4 separate regions of the Homo sapiens genome follow, and all the other regions are linked to region 1. The links are contacts of gene promoters, found by promoter capture Hi-C in blood cells and fetal thymus (Javierre and others, 2016). All regions are on one chromosome and are shown on one strand. Each heading gives the region's core, a stretch centred on a gene start or on the middle of the fragment in contact. The rest is flanking DNA. Distances are from core to core; before and after follow the strand shown. Region 1 holds the start of TIGD6 (tigger transposable element derived 6). Region 2 overlaps LOC124901104. Region 3 overlaps ARHGEF37 (Rho guanine nucleotide exchange factor 37). Region 4 has its middle 64 kb from the start of PPARGC1B.

The links. Contacts are between HindIII fragments. The CHiCAGO score rates a contact against its expected background, and 5 or more counts as called.
Region 2: a fragment that was not itself captured here is called in contact with the fragment with the promoter of TIGD6 in region 1 in 16 of 17 cell types (erythroblasts, M2 macrophages, M0 macrophages and 13 more); the score reaches 19.3 in erythroblasts.
Region 3: a fragment that was not itself captured here is called in contact with the fragment with the promoter of TIGD6 in region 1 in 6 of 17 cell types (erythroblasts, M0 macrophages, M2 macrophages and 3 more); the score reaches 14.2 in erythroblasts.
Region 4: a contact is called between a fragment that was not itself captured here and the fragment with the promoter of TIGD6 in region 1, in 4 of 17 cell types (erythroblasts, endothelial precursors, M1 macrophages and 1 more). The highest score is 10.5, in erythroblasts.

The regions. Positions count from the first base shown.
Region 1 is chr5:149,999,243-150,002,105 of GRCh38, reverse strand. It overlaps TIGD6 (tigger transposable element derived 6), which reads left to right and starts at 1,452. Exons shown (of 2, transcript NM_030953.4): 1 at 1,452-1,632. It overlaps HMGXB3 (HMG-box containing 3), which reads right to left and starts at 1,367. Exons shown (of 20, transcript NM_014983.3): 1 at 927-1,367. RefSeq lists enhancers at 473-552, 1,440-2,228 and a silencer at 1,633-1,712. The HindIII fragment of the contact is 5,274 bases long and covers 1-2,863 here.
Region 2 is chr5:149,635,074-149,637,773 of GRCh38, reverse strand. It overlaps LOC124901104, which reads left to right. Exons shown (of 3, transcript XR_007058990.1): 3 at 1-531. Among named protein-coding and RNA genes, the nearest start is that of ARHGEF37, 55 kb to the right of the region's middle. The HindIII fragment of the contact is 4,308 bases long and covers 1-2,700 here.
Region 3 is chr5:149,618,202-149,620,954 of GRCh38, reverse strand. ARHGEF37 (Rho guanine nucleotide exchange factor 37) reads right to left here. Exons shown (of 13, transcript NM_001001669.3): 6 at 2,649-2,753; 7 at 1,913-2,017; 8 at 491-601. Among named protein-coding and RNA genes, the nearest start is that of ARHGEF37, 38 kb to the right of the region's middle. RefSeq lists an enhancer at 2,597-2,753. The HindIII fragment of the contact is 5,427 bases long and covers 1-2,753 here.
Region 4 is chr5:149,665,315-149,668,014 of GRCh38, reverse strand. No RefSeq gene overlaps it. Among named protein-coding and RNA genes, the nearest start is that of PPARGC1B, 64 kb to the left of the region's middle. The HindIII fragment of the contact is 1,104 bases long and covers 725-1,828 here.

The DNA of each region.
Region 1 (2,863 bases), core at 203-2,702:
AAAAACAAAAACTAAACTAACAAAGAAAAACAAAACAAAAACCTACATTCTAACTGCCATAGTGCAACCCAGGAAGAGAACACAGTCTACAACTTGGCTGGGTAAGCAATAGGCCAGTAAAGGATAAGGGAAGCAGTAGTTCAAATCAAGGCTACGTGGGGACTGCGCTTTTTTGCCCTGAATTGACTTCTGGGCGGCTGAAAGCCTTGTGGAGAAGGGCAGTAACTGCAGGAGAGCATCTGTAATGAATGGCATATAGGGTACTAAGCACCCTGCGCAAAACGGGTTAGGAAACACTCATTACAGCCACCTTGGGCTGAGGGCAGGAAGACAACACCCTACGGTTTTGTTTGTTTTATTACCCTGTTCTAAGCCTGAGTACAAGTTTGTTATCAGACTCGAGGCAGCAGTATAGCAATGCAAAAAAAGGCAGGACAATTTAAGGTTAAAAACGAAGGGCTCTAGAGGACAGAAAATCCGGGTTCTAGTACAGACTACACCAGTCGCACCAGCACGGGGACCTCTGACCTTAAGCAATCTACTTACCCTAAGTCTCCGTTATTTCATCTGTAAAACAGAGTTAAGGTCAATACCTGAAATATGCGAGACACTTTCTCTGTCCCATCAGATCCTCCTTGGAATCTCACGAGATTGCCTTTGAGGGCTCAGCCATGGGCCACAGTTTGACTCTGGGCTAGCTCCTTTCCCTCATTCTGGGTCATGAATGAAGCAAGAGCCAAACCAGACAAAGTCTTGGTCAAGCTAAGACGTCTGGGACATCCGAATGTCCCATACGGATTGCGGAAGGAGGACACTAAGGCTCAGTGGCCCTACTTTGTGGAAGACTCAGTAGAGGCTCAGAGAGCCGCAGCATCCAACTCGAGGTCGCCCAGCGGCTCGGCGCGGCCCTCGAAGGCGGGACTTACCCGGAGGAGCGTGCAAGCTGCGCCGCTCACATTCCCGGAGGCGCTTGGCCCGGCGGCTGGACGAGGGGGATGGCTGGCGCACTCGCGCTCCCCGCTGTCGGCGAGAGGCGGCTCCAGTCGTGACAGCAGCAACAAGGAAGTGGAGGCGAGGGCTCGCGCGCGCATCCCGGGGGCTGAAGGAGCCCCGGCCCCGCGGCCCCGCCCGGCGACACACGGCGCGGAGTCGCGACAGCCCCTCTCGCTTCCCCTCCTCGGAGTCGCGATATGGGGTCCTGAAGGGCAAGAATAGGAGCACAGGTTCGCTCCGCAGGCTCCTCACCGATGCCTGCCGAGGGCCCCGGGGGTCAAGCCCCGGGGAGCTCGAGGAAGACGGCAGGGACACGGTCGTCACCGAGGCACCGGTTTGGCGGCTGCACCGGCAGTAGCGGCACACCACGGATCGCCAGGGAGACCCGTCCCGGCGGCCCTCGCGGCGCACCGGAAGCGGTCGGCAGCGCGTGACTGCATGCGACCCCTGGCGCAAGCGCAACAGCCCAGCCCTAGCTTGGGAGCGGACCCACACGAACTGCTCAAAGGCTTGGAGCGGGTCTAGTAAGGCGAACGGACTGCTTCCGGCCAGAGGTCCCGGGCGGAGGAGGAAGCTGTGGCTGCCGGCGGTGGGACGCCCCGGCCGCTCAGCCCCCGGGCACTGCTGTGGGGCGTTCAGGTAACAGGGGCGGGGCTGTGCTGAGCGTGAGGGATCTAGGCCCCGCCTCACCTTTCAGAGCCACGTCGGGCGCTGGGAAGCCTACAATACCACCCTCTCCTCAGCACGACGTTCAAGGCCTGACCTCAGCCTGTCTCAGTCTTTCCCTCTCATTCAGGATCGGGTTCATACGTAGTGCCGCATCAAGTAGCGCCTTCATCACTCCAGTGATCTGCCCTCAATCCGTCTCTCCCACTGGCCCACGAATAGTGATGGTAGTGAGTTCCTGGAGTGACTCAAGCTGAGCTGAATGACCGTATGGAGAGCTTCCGTAAATCAAATAGGGATTGGATTGGATTGTCCTTTCTCTCCAGTGTCACAAGTTGTCCACATTTGTACAAGTTCCCGCACAACCCTCACTGTATTCCAGTCTGCCTACTTCTCTGCATCTACCGCCATCACCAACCTTCTAGCCACCATCATCTCCTGCCTGGACTGATGTAGTTCTCCCCACATCCCCTCTACAATCCATTCTCCACGAAGCAGTCAGATTGATCATTTTGCACTGTAAGTCTGATCAAGTCACTCCCTGCTTAAAACCCTCCAGTGTCTCATTCACTTAAAATAAAATTCAGACGTCTTAGCTTGACCAAGACTTGTCTGATTTGGCTCTTGCTTCATTCTCTTTCTATGTCTCCTCTCAATATTAGTAGTTCCCAGAACCAGCTATATAGCACTCTGTAGTGTTTGGAGTGCTAGCTTTGTTGTGAGCCTCCTGGGTTTGAATCCCAGCCCTGCCACAAGTAAGCAATATTAAGCAAGTAAAGTGCTTAACAAATGAGGTTTACGCAGTAGATCCTCCCACCTCAGTAAATGGCACCATCATCTGCTGGATTCCTCAGTGCTCAAACCAGAAACCTGGGCGTTATCCTTGACTCCTCCTTCACCTCACATCCGGTCCAGCACAGGGCTTGCAAAAACATAGCCCCAGACTGACTACTACTCACCATCTCTCTATTACTACTCTAATCCAAGCCACCATTATCTCATGTGGACTCCTGCTTTTTTCTCTGATACCCTTCCATTCTTTACACAGCAGTCATCTCTCCTTCCTTAAAATCCTTCAATAGCTTCCTATTGCACTCAAATTAACATCCAAACTGTATATGGCCTACTGGTTTAGCCTGCTTTTATCTTCAGATTTAAGGCCATCTCTTAGGAAAATCAACTTTACCCATTAGGTTCTCTACCC
Region 2 (2,700 bases), core at 185-2,684, 360 kb after region 1:
GTCTGATGAAGGGATGATTAAAGTGACGATGGAGAAAGGGATTTCACAGGAAATACGAAGATACGAAAGTAATTCTTCAGAGAAGATCTCCACCAAGAACACTCAACCCACATTCAGGCAGAATATGCAAGGAGGCAAACTGTTGTGGACTACGCGATCTCCACATGGAAGATGTCACATCAAAAAATAAAAATAGGCCGGGCGCGGTGGCTCACGCCTGTATTTCCAGCACTTTATGAAGCCGAGGCGAGTGGATCACCTGAGGTCAGGAGTTTGAGACCAGCCTGGCTAACATGGTGAAACCCCATCTCTGTTAAAAACACAAAATTAGCCAGGTGTGGTGGCACATGTCTGCAATCCCAGCTACTCGGGAGGCTGAGACAGGAGAATTGCTTGAACCCAGGAGGCAGAGGCTGCAGTAAGCCGAGATCGTGCCACTGCACTCCAGCCTGGGTAAGACAGAGCGAGACTCTGTCAATAATAATAATAATAATAATAATAATAATAATAAATAAACAAACAAAAACTCTGGTTCCTGGCGGCTTCTCTTGAAATATCAGAATGGTACCACGGCACCCTCCTTCTGATGTGGGAACAGTTGGTTGGAGCCAAGAAGCTACAGCTTTTTAGACTGAGTGTGCATGCTCTGGTCAACACAGTCCCCACCACCCCCTAATGCCTTTCACTTGGCCCTTCCTCTCATCTCCACTAACTGCCTGGCACCATGGGCGTTTCGCATTGATCCCAAAGGCGCTTCCCAGCCGTCCCTTAGCTGATCCCCTGCTGCCACCTGGTGGTCACAGTTCTTCTGTGCCATCAATGCATATCAGTGATATTCCTGGTACATCTACCACCAGGCACACTGATTGTCCCTTATTTAATCCTTTTACCAACCCTGGGAGAACAGGAATTATTGTATCCATTTTACAGATGAGAAAACAGAAAAGGTAAGTTGGGTAATTATAGATAAGAAAAAAAAATGAGCAAGGTTAAGTGAATAAATCATTCAGGATCCCAGATTCCATGATGTTGCCAGAGTGGAATCCAGCTCTTTCCTTTGCCCCAGCCCAGGGTATTTTAGGCTCTGTCCTGCCACACCCTTGAGATGGCCAGAACTCTGCAGTGAGTACTTTTGAGTCTGAGTGGGAGGACAGAGCAGCCTGGGGGCCATCAGCAGATGTCTTCATACATAGAAACCACGGTCCATCCATAGTCAAGACATTTGCTGCTTGCCTATGGCCAAGTAGGTCTTGGACTCAGATTTTTTTTCTTTTTCTTTTTTAAAAAAATAAAAATAAATAAATAAATAAATAAATAAAAACAGGGTCTCCGTCTGTCACCCAGACTGGAGTGTAGCGGCGCAATCACAGCTCACTGCAGCCTCGACCTCCTGGGCTCAAGAAATCCTCCTGGGTAGCTGGGACTACAGGCATGAGGTACTGGGGCCTGGTGTGGACTTAGATTTTCTGAGGCCAAGTGCTGGGCCTTTTCATGCCACCACACTGCCTCCCAGGCCTGAGAAGGCCTCCATCCTGTAGATGACAGAGTAATCCCATAGGATTGCTTTATTTTTATTTTTTTGAGGCAAGAGTCTTGCTTCGTCACCCAGGCTGGTGTTCAATGGCATGGTGATCTCGGCTCACTACAACCTCTGCCTCCCAGTTTCAAGCAATTCTCCTACCTGAGCCTCCCGAGTAGCTGGGATTACAGGCGCACGCCACCATGCCCAGCTAATTTTTTGTATTTTTAGCAGAGACAGGATTTCACCATGTTGGCCAGGATGGTCTTGAACTCCTGACCTCAAGTGATCCATCTGCCTTGCCCTCCAAAGTGCTGGGATTACAGGTGTGAGCCACCACACCCAGCCGGATTACTCTCTCCAATCTTATGTATCCCACAAGGCCCAGCACCTGCACCACCTTCCTCAGGAAACTGCCCCTGGCCACCTCAGCCTTCCCAAATCTCTCCCTTGTCTGAGCACCTATATGCCTGGTCCATAGCACCCCTCTGGGGCTGAGGGCATCTTTTCCTGTAGGGCCAGATAACTGCTTGATGTCTGACTCTCCAGTCGGCCAGGAGAGTCCTTGAAGGCAAGGCTTTGGTGTTCCTATCCTCTCTGGGATGCTTACTAAGCAATATGTATTGAACATCTAGTACTTGAGGCACATGACAAAGGCTTAGGGAGATTCTGGGATGAATCAGAAGTTCTCAGCCTCAAGGAGCATGCAGTTGCCTGTGGGCGCAACAGGCACACAGTCAGAGCCTAGTGATCTTCCCAAAGTACAACCCTGAGCACATCACTCCTCTGTTTCAAACCCTTTCATGCCTCCCCCACTGCCCTCAGAATAAAATCCAAGGCTCCTTTCCATGTTTGCTGCACTTCTGGGCCTCCAAATGTTCTCTCTCTGCCATCTTCACCTAACCACCCACTGGGCCTCAGCTTGGATATCACCTCTTCCAGGAAGCCTTCCTTGGCCGCCAAGTCTGAGACAGAGGTAGGCCTCTTCCCTGGCTTGCGTGGCACCTGCCATTACTTCATCCTGACACTTACACGGCACGTAATTGATGGGTGCCTCATCTGCCTGCCTTAGAGACTGGGATCTGGAAGACCGGGCCTCATCTGTCTGATTTCTTTCTGTATCCCCCAGCAGCTCAGGCCAGCTCCCTGAGGCGTGAAGGGTGTCCATTAAATGGACACCT
Region 3 (2,753 bases), core at 96-2,595, 380 kb after region 1:
GCTCAATAAATGTTAGTGGGGGCTATTTTTATCAGGAAAGTGCACTAATAATAATCTCTATGCTGCTGACCACTCAGGAAGATTACAGATGTGGCAATTGTGTAAAGTGCCTGACTTCTTTTTTTGAGAAGGAGTCTCACTCTGTCTCCGGGCTGGAGTGCGGTGGCATGATCTCGGCTCACTGCAACCTCTGCCTCCTGGGTTCAAGCAATTCTCCTGCCTCAGCCTCCTGAGTAGCTGGGACTACAGGTGCACACTGCCATGCCCGGCTAATTTTCTGTATTTTTAGTAGAGACGGGGTTTCATCGTATTGCCCAGGCTGGTCTCAAACTCCTGAGCTCAGGCAATCTGCCTGCCTCGGCCTCCCAAAGTGCTGGGATTACAGGCGTGAGCCACCACGCCTGGCCAAAGTGCCTGACTTCTAAATATTATTCTTGTAAGCTCTACCACCTGCCTAACAAAGAAAGGAGAAAGGAAAGGTTCCACTCACAAATTTCAGGAAGGCCTCAAGGTGAAGGTCTCTTGCCAAATTGCAATACTGCACTGCAGGCCCCTCGGGGATGTCCAGATTGTATTCGTGCGGCCTGAAGTAGAGGAAAGCCTGGACCCAGTACCAAGGAGAAACATCCAATCATGCCTGTCATGGCCATCTTACGCTGGAATCCCCTTCCACCATACCTTGAAGAGGTTTTCCAGGCTCTCTACACACCCCCAATGAGAGGGACACACACAGCTGATTCTATTCTCACACAGCTTAAGTGATTAGAAAGTTCCGCCTTAGACTGAGTCAACATCTTTCTCCTCATTCCAGTGCTTCTTGAACTTCATACATTTACATGCCACCTTTGTGGGGTTTTTTTCTTTTTCTTTTTTTTTTTTTTTGAGACAGAGTCTCACTCTGTCACCCAGGCTGGTGTGCAGTGGCATGATCTTGGCTCATTGCAATCTCTGCCTCCCAGGTTCAAGCAATTCTCCTGCCTCAGCCTCCTGAGTAGCTGGGACTACAGGCGTGTGACACCTTGCCTGGCTAATGTTTTTCGTATTTTTAGTAGACACAAGGTTTCACCATGTTGACCAGGCTGGTCTTGAACTCCTGACCTCAAGTGATCTTCCCGCCTCGGCCTTCCAAAATTCTGGGATTACAGGCGTAAGCCACTGCACCCAGCAGTGCGTTTGTTTTTTCCCATGTCCATATTCCACATGTTCTATTAATACTTTTCTCTAACTTTTCCTATTTACATCAATGCATTAAAAAAATGCCCCATAGCATTTAAATCTTCATTTAATTAGTTGCTCACATTGACGCATCAGGAGATGTCATCAAAAATCTGAAAAATACCTGAATTTCCAGGTGTGTTTTTCTTAAAGTCAGAAGAACTGGGCCCATATTCTCACCCAGCAACAACCCCCCAGAGCTGAGGAATAGCTGCTCCTTTAGATTTGATTCATGTATTCATTCATTCAGCCCTTCAAATTCCAAATATTATTTTATATTTAAGTTCACTGAAAAGTCTCATAAACAGCCTGTTAGACACTAGGCTCCTATTGCATTGGATTGCCTGTTACCTGCACACTTCACTCAGTAGCATTACCTGCCTGGCCCCTTTAGGCACCTGTTTGTCTCCCCTGCTCTAGGTGCTGGTCTGGCAGAGTTGCTCTGCGGGGCTCTGCTTCCAGTGAATTTTGGCCCTATGTGGTAGGAACTCCAATGGGCTCGGAGCTGCCCCCAGTATAATGGCCTGGGGCTGAGGAGTGCTGGCCAGCATTCTCCAGAAGAGATGAGACAGGATGACCTCATCTGGTTGGTTTCTGAGGCTGGTGCCTTTCCCAGCTTGTAGGCTGGGCCCTGCAAGCCTCCTGCCAGGGGAACCCAGCCCAGACTCGCCCTTTATGAACCCTGCAGTGTCCTCACCTGCAGATTGTCCAGGTAAGCAGCCACGTTGTTCTTCAGCTCAGTCACACACAGAGACACCCACTGGAACCTCTCTTCTAAATCATCAAATTCCTTGTCTTCTGTCTGAAAGTAATGTGTGTGAGGGTTGAGAATATCCACATGGGGGCAGTGTACACCGGCTTCAGTGTTCCAGGTCCTCACTGGGACAACCTTTCCACAGACTCGCCCACCAGAGCTGGTTCTCGCAACCCCAAAGCTGAGAGGGTGGTGTAGCTCAGTGGTTTTACATTCAGAGCATGGAATCGGATACACAAGCATGAGCCCCAGTTCATTGGCTTCCTAGCCGTGTGACTCTGGACAAGGGTTTTACCCTCTCGGAGTTTCTGTTTTCTCATGGGGATAGTGGGAACACTTATTTCATTGTGTGAGCATGCTTGGTTTCAGAGCAGGCACTCCACCAACCTGTGCTGCTAGAAGTAGCTATTTAGGGCTGGTCCTTTGCCCAAACCCAGAGACCAGCTCTCCTATCTGTGTAAATAGGCCCCAAAGAGAGTGGCCCAAGACACTGGAGAAACCCCTCCACTGGCTCTTCAGAATCAAGTGGGGTGCCACCTCTGCCTCTTCCCAGCACCTCAATCTCTCAGCCTCCATTGCCTCAGTTCTGAAAGGAGCCTAAGTCCCCTGTCTACCCACTGTGCAGGGCCTGGCCTTGGGGGTGGCTGGATGTGACTCTTCCTCCCAGGCGCACGCTCACCCTGGGGATCAGCCCCGCCTCCTGCTTCAGCAGCTGGCTCAGCCGGGTGGTCTTCTTGGAGAGGGTGTGTGTGTTGATGCGGGCCAGCCGCTCCCGGAGGGTCAG
Region 4 (2,700 bases), core at 27-2,526, 330 kb after region 1:
ACTAATAACAGAAAACACCTCTTTGGTAAGCGAGAGAAGAAACTTCAGAGACATCAAAAAGTGTTTAATGTGTAGCATGAAGACGTAACCCTTAATGGAAATGGGGTTCTGGAGTAAGGCAATTACCTGAACAAAGATTTCCACACATACAAATTTAAGGATCACGAAGGTCTCCAGCTGTCAGTCTGGAGAAGATCAGAGGCCCCCCGGCCTCCTTCCACCAACCTGCTCATCAATTTCACGCCCCTCTCCCAGCCCATCCCAATTGGGACGTCATAGTCGTGTGCCATCTAGTGGTCAATATGATTACTGCATGTAACTGCCTGGGGCTTTCTGTTTTGGTTTTATTAAGCTTTCACTAACTCATTGTTATAATATGTCTGGTGCTGAGAATATAATAGAGAACACGATAGACACGGCCCTTCCTTCAGGAACCTCACAGTATAGCAGGGTGAATTAAACACATAAAATACAATATGAGAGGTACAATCAAGACATATTAAGGGAGGTAAGGGAGCCCTGAGGAAGGACACCTAATCTAGATTTGGTGATTGGAGGAGGCTTCCCAGAGGGAGGGCCATTAATGCTGGGATCTGAAGGATAAGCAGAAGTTTGTTAAGCAAAGGAGGGGAAGGAAACAGACAGCATTTCAGGCAGAAAGGTGAGGTATGCCTAAAAGCCAGGTGTCAAGAGAGCACAACCAGCTCATGTTGGGTGCAAAGCTTTGTTAAGAACTTTGAACTTGGCAGGGTGCGGTGGCTCATGCCTGTAATCCCAGCACATTGGGAGGCTGAGGCAGGTGGATCACCTGAGGTCAGGAGTTTTAGACCAGCCTGGCCAACATGGTGAAACCCTGTTTCTACTAAAAATACAAAAAAAAAAGTTAGGTGTGGTGACAGGTGCCTGCAGTCCCAGCTACTTGGGAGGATGAGGCAGGAGAATTGCTTGAACCTGGGAGGTGGCGGTTGCAGTGAGCTGAGATTGCACCGTTGTACTCCAGCCTGGGTGACAGAGTGAGACTCTGTCTAAAAAAATAATAATAATAACTTTGAACTTCATTCATGGGGCTGTGAGAGCCATTTCTTTTCAGGGACAAATGAAGAAAGCCTATAGAATTTGAATTTCTCCTGGGCCCTGGCTTATACCTCTTACCTCTTAGAGTCCAGACACTCACAACCCACCCCCTGAAGAGTGGAATGATGTTATTCTTTAAATTTTTGTTTTATTCCCAGGCATGAGTTGCTTATCCACATGCCCTTGATCTCTCCTTTCCCTGTGTCAGCAAAGAAGTTTGTCTAGCGTTGTCATCATTTCTGAGCTAGGGCAGAGCTTCAGCTCCTGCAATAATAGATCTGGCAATGCCAAACTCCTTTCTAGCGCCAAAGTCCTTAATGGGGGAGACAGTGGCTACTGTCAGTGTAAGGTCCTGGGGACCTCATGCTTCAGTATCCCCTGGGGTATTTAACAAAGCAGATTCCCAGACCTTCCCATCCTCACTCAGGGGATGTGGGTCCCTGGAATGGGCTCCTGTGCCCTGGTGATCCTGGGGCTCACTTGGGTTAGAAGCACTGGTGTGGCGATTGGGGCACAGGCCCTGGGGTTAGTTCCCTCCTACAACTCTGTCTAGCCCTGCCTCCCACTGTGTGTGACTCAGCTGTTTGGTCTCAGGCCAGTTACTTCATCTCCCTAAGCCACTGGTTTCTATTCTTGAAAATGGGAATAATAATCATAAAACCTACCCAACAGCATTATTGAGAAGATTCGATGAGATTATGTATGTAATGAGGCTGGCACAGAGTCTGGCAAATAGGAAGTACTCATCAAAGCTTAAAGAACATCAACTGTTGTGTCTGGGACACATTACAGTCATAAAGGGGATGGGAGTTAACACCAGGCCATGGGCTTGGATCCTCAGGGGCTGGAATTTAGAGGGGTGGGTTGCCAAGGGGAGGAGAGAAGACCTAGGGGGTCGGATATCTCACTCAGAGAGGTGTTGAGAGCCAGCAAGCCAGAGAGGCAGACTGCCCCTGGACAGCTGGGAGCAGAGGGTTGTAAGTGCACCGCAGAGTGGGTGGAAATGAAATCTTCATGAAATGCTCAGAGAATCTGACAGGAAGCTTCCCTCTGCTAACACTGCTTTTCAATGACTCTTATCGACACAAACCAGCCAAAGCAAAAGAGGGAATTTTGAGTTTATTTAATTGAAAAGGCCAAGGGTAGATATGAATCTGGTGTAAACACTGCCATCAGGAACCAGTCTCCAATTCTCAGCTCTACTTCTGCCCATCTTAGCTTTGTTCTCAGGCTGGCTTGCTCTATGTATTGACAAAAGTCAACCAGCAGCTCTAAGTGTAGTTCTGCAGGTAACAAGCCCAGCCCAGAGACAGCACCTCTCTCCTGATAGCATCAGCAAAAATCTTGAGGCTGACGTTCATTGGCTTAACTTTGGGCCACTTGCCCATCTCTGAACCAATCACTGTGACCAGAAAAATGGAATTTTCTGATTGGCCAGATCTGTTTCTTGTGTTCAATTTTGCATCCAGGGTTGGTTCAGCCCCACCCAAATTACACGGAGTGAGCATAAAGAGTTCCCTAAATAAAAATAAGGGCCCTGTTTCTGGGAGAAGAGATGGAGGACAAGCCAAACAAAACTGAGGCATCCTCAATTTGCCCATGTGTGAGACACCCTCTTGCCATTGG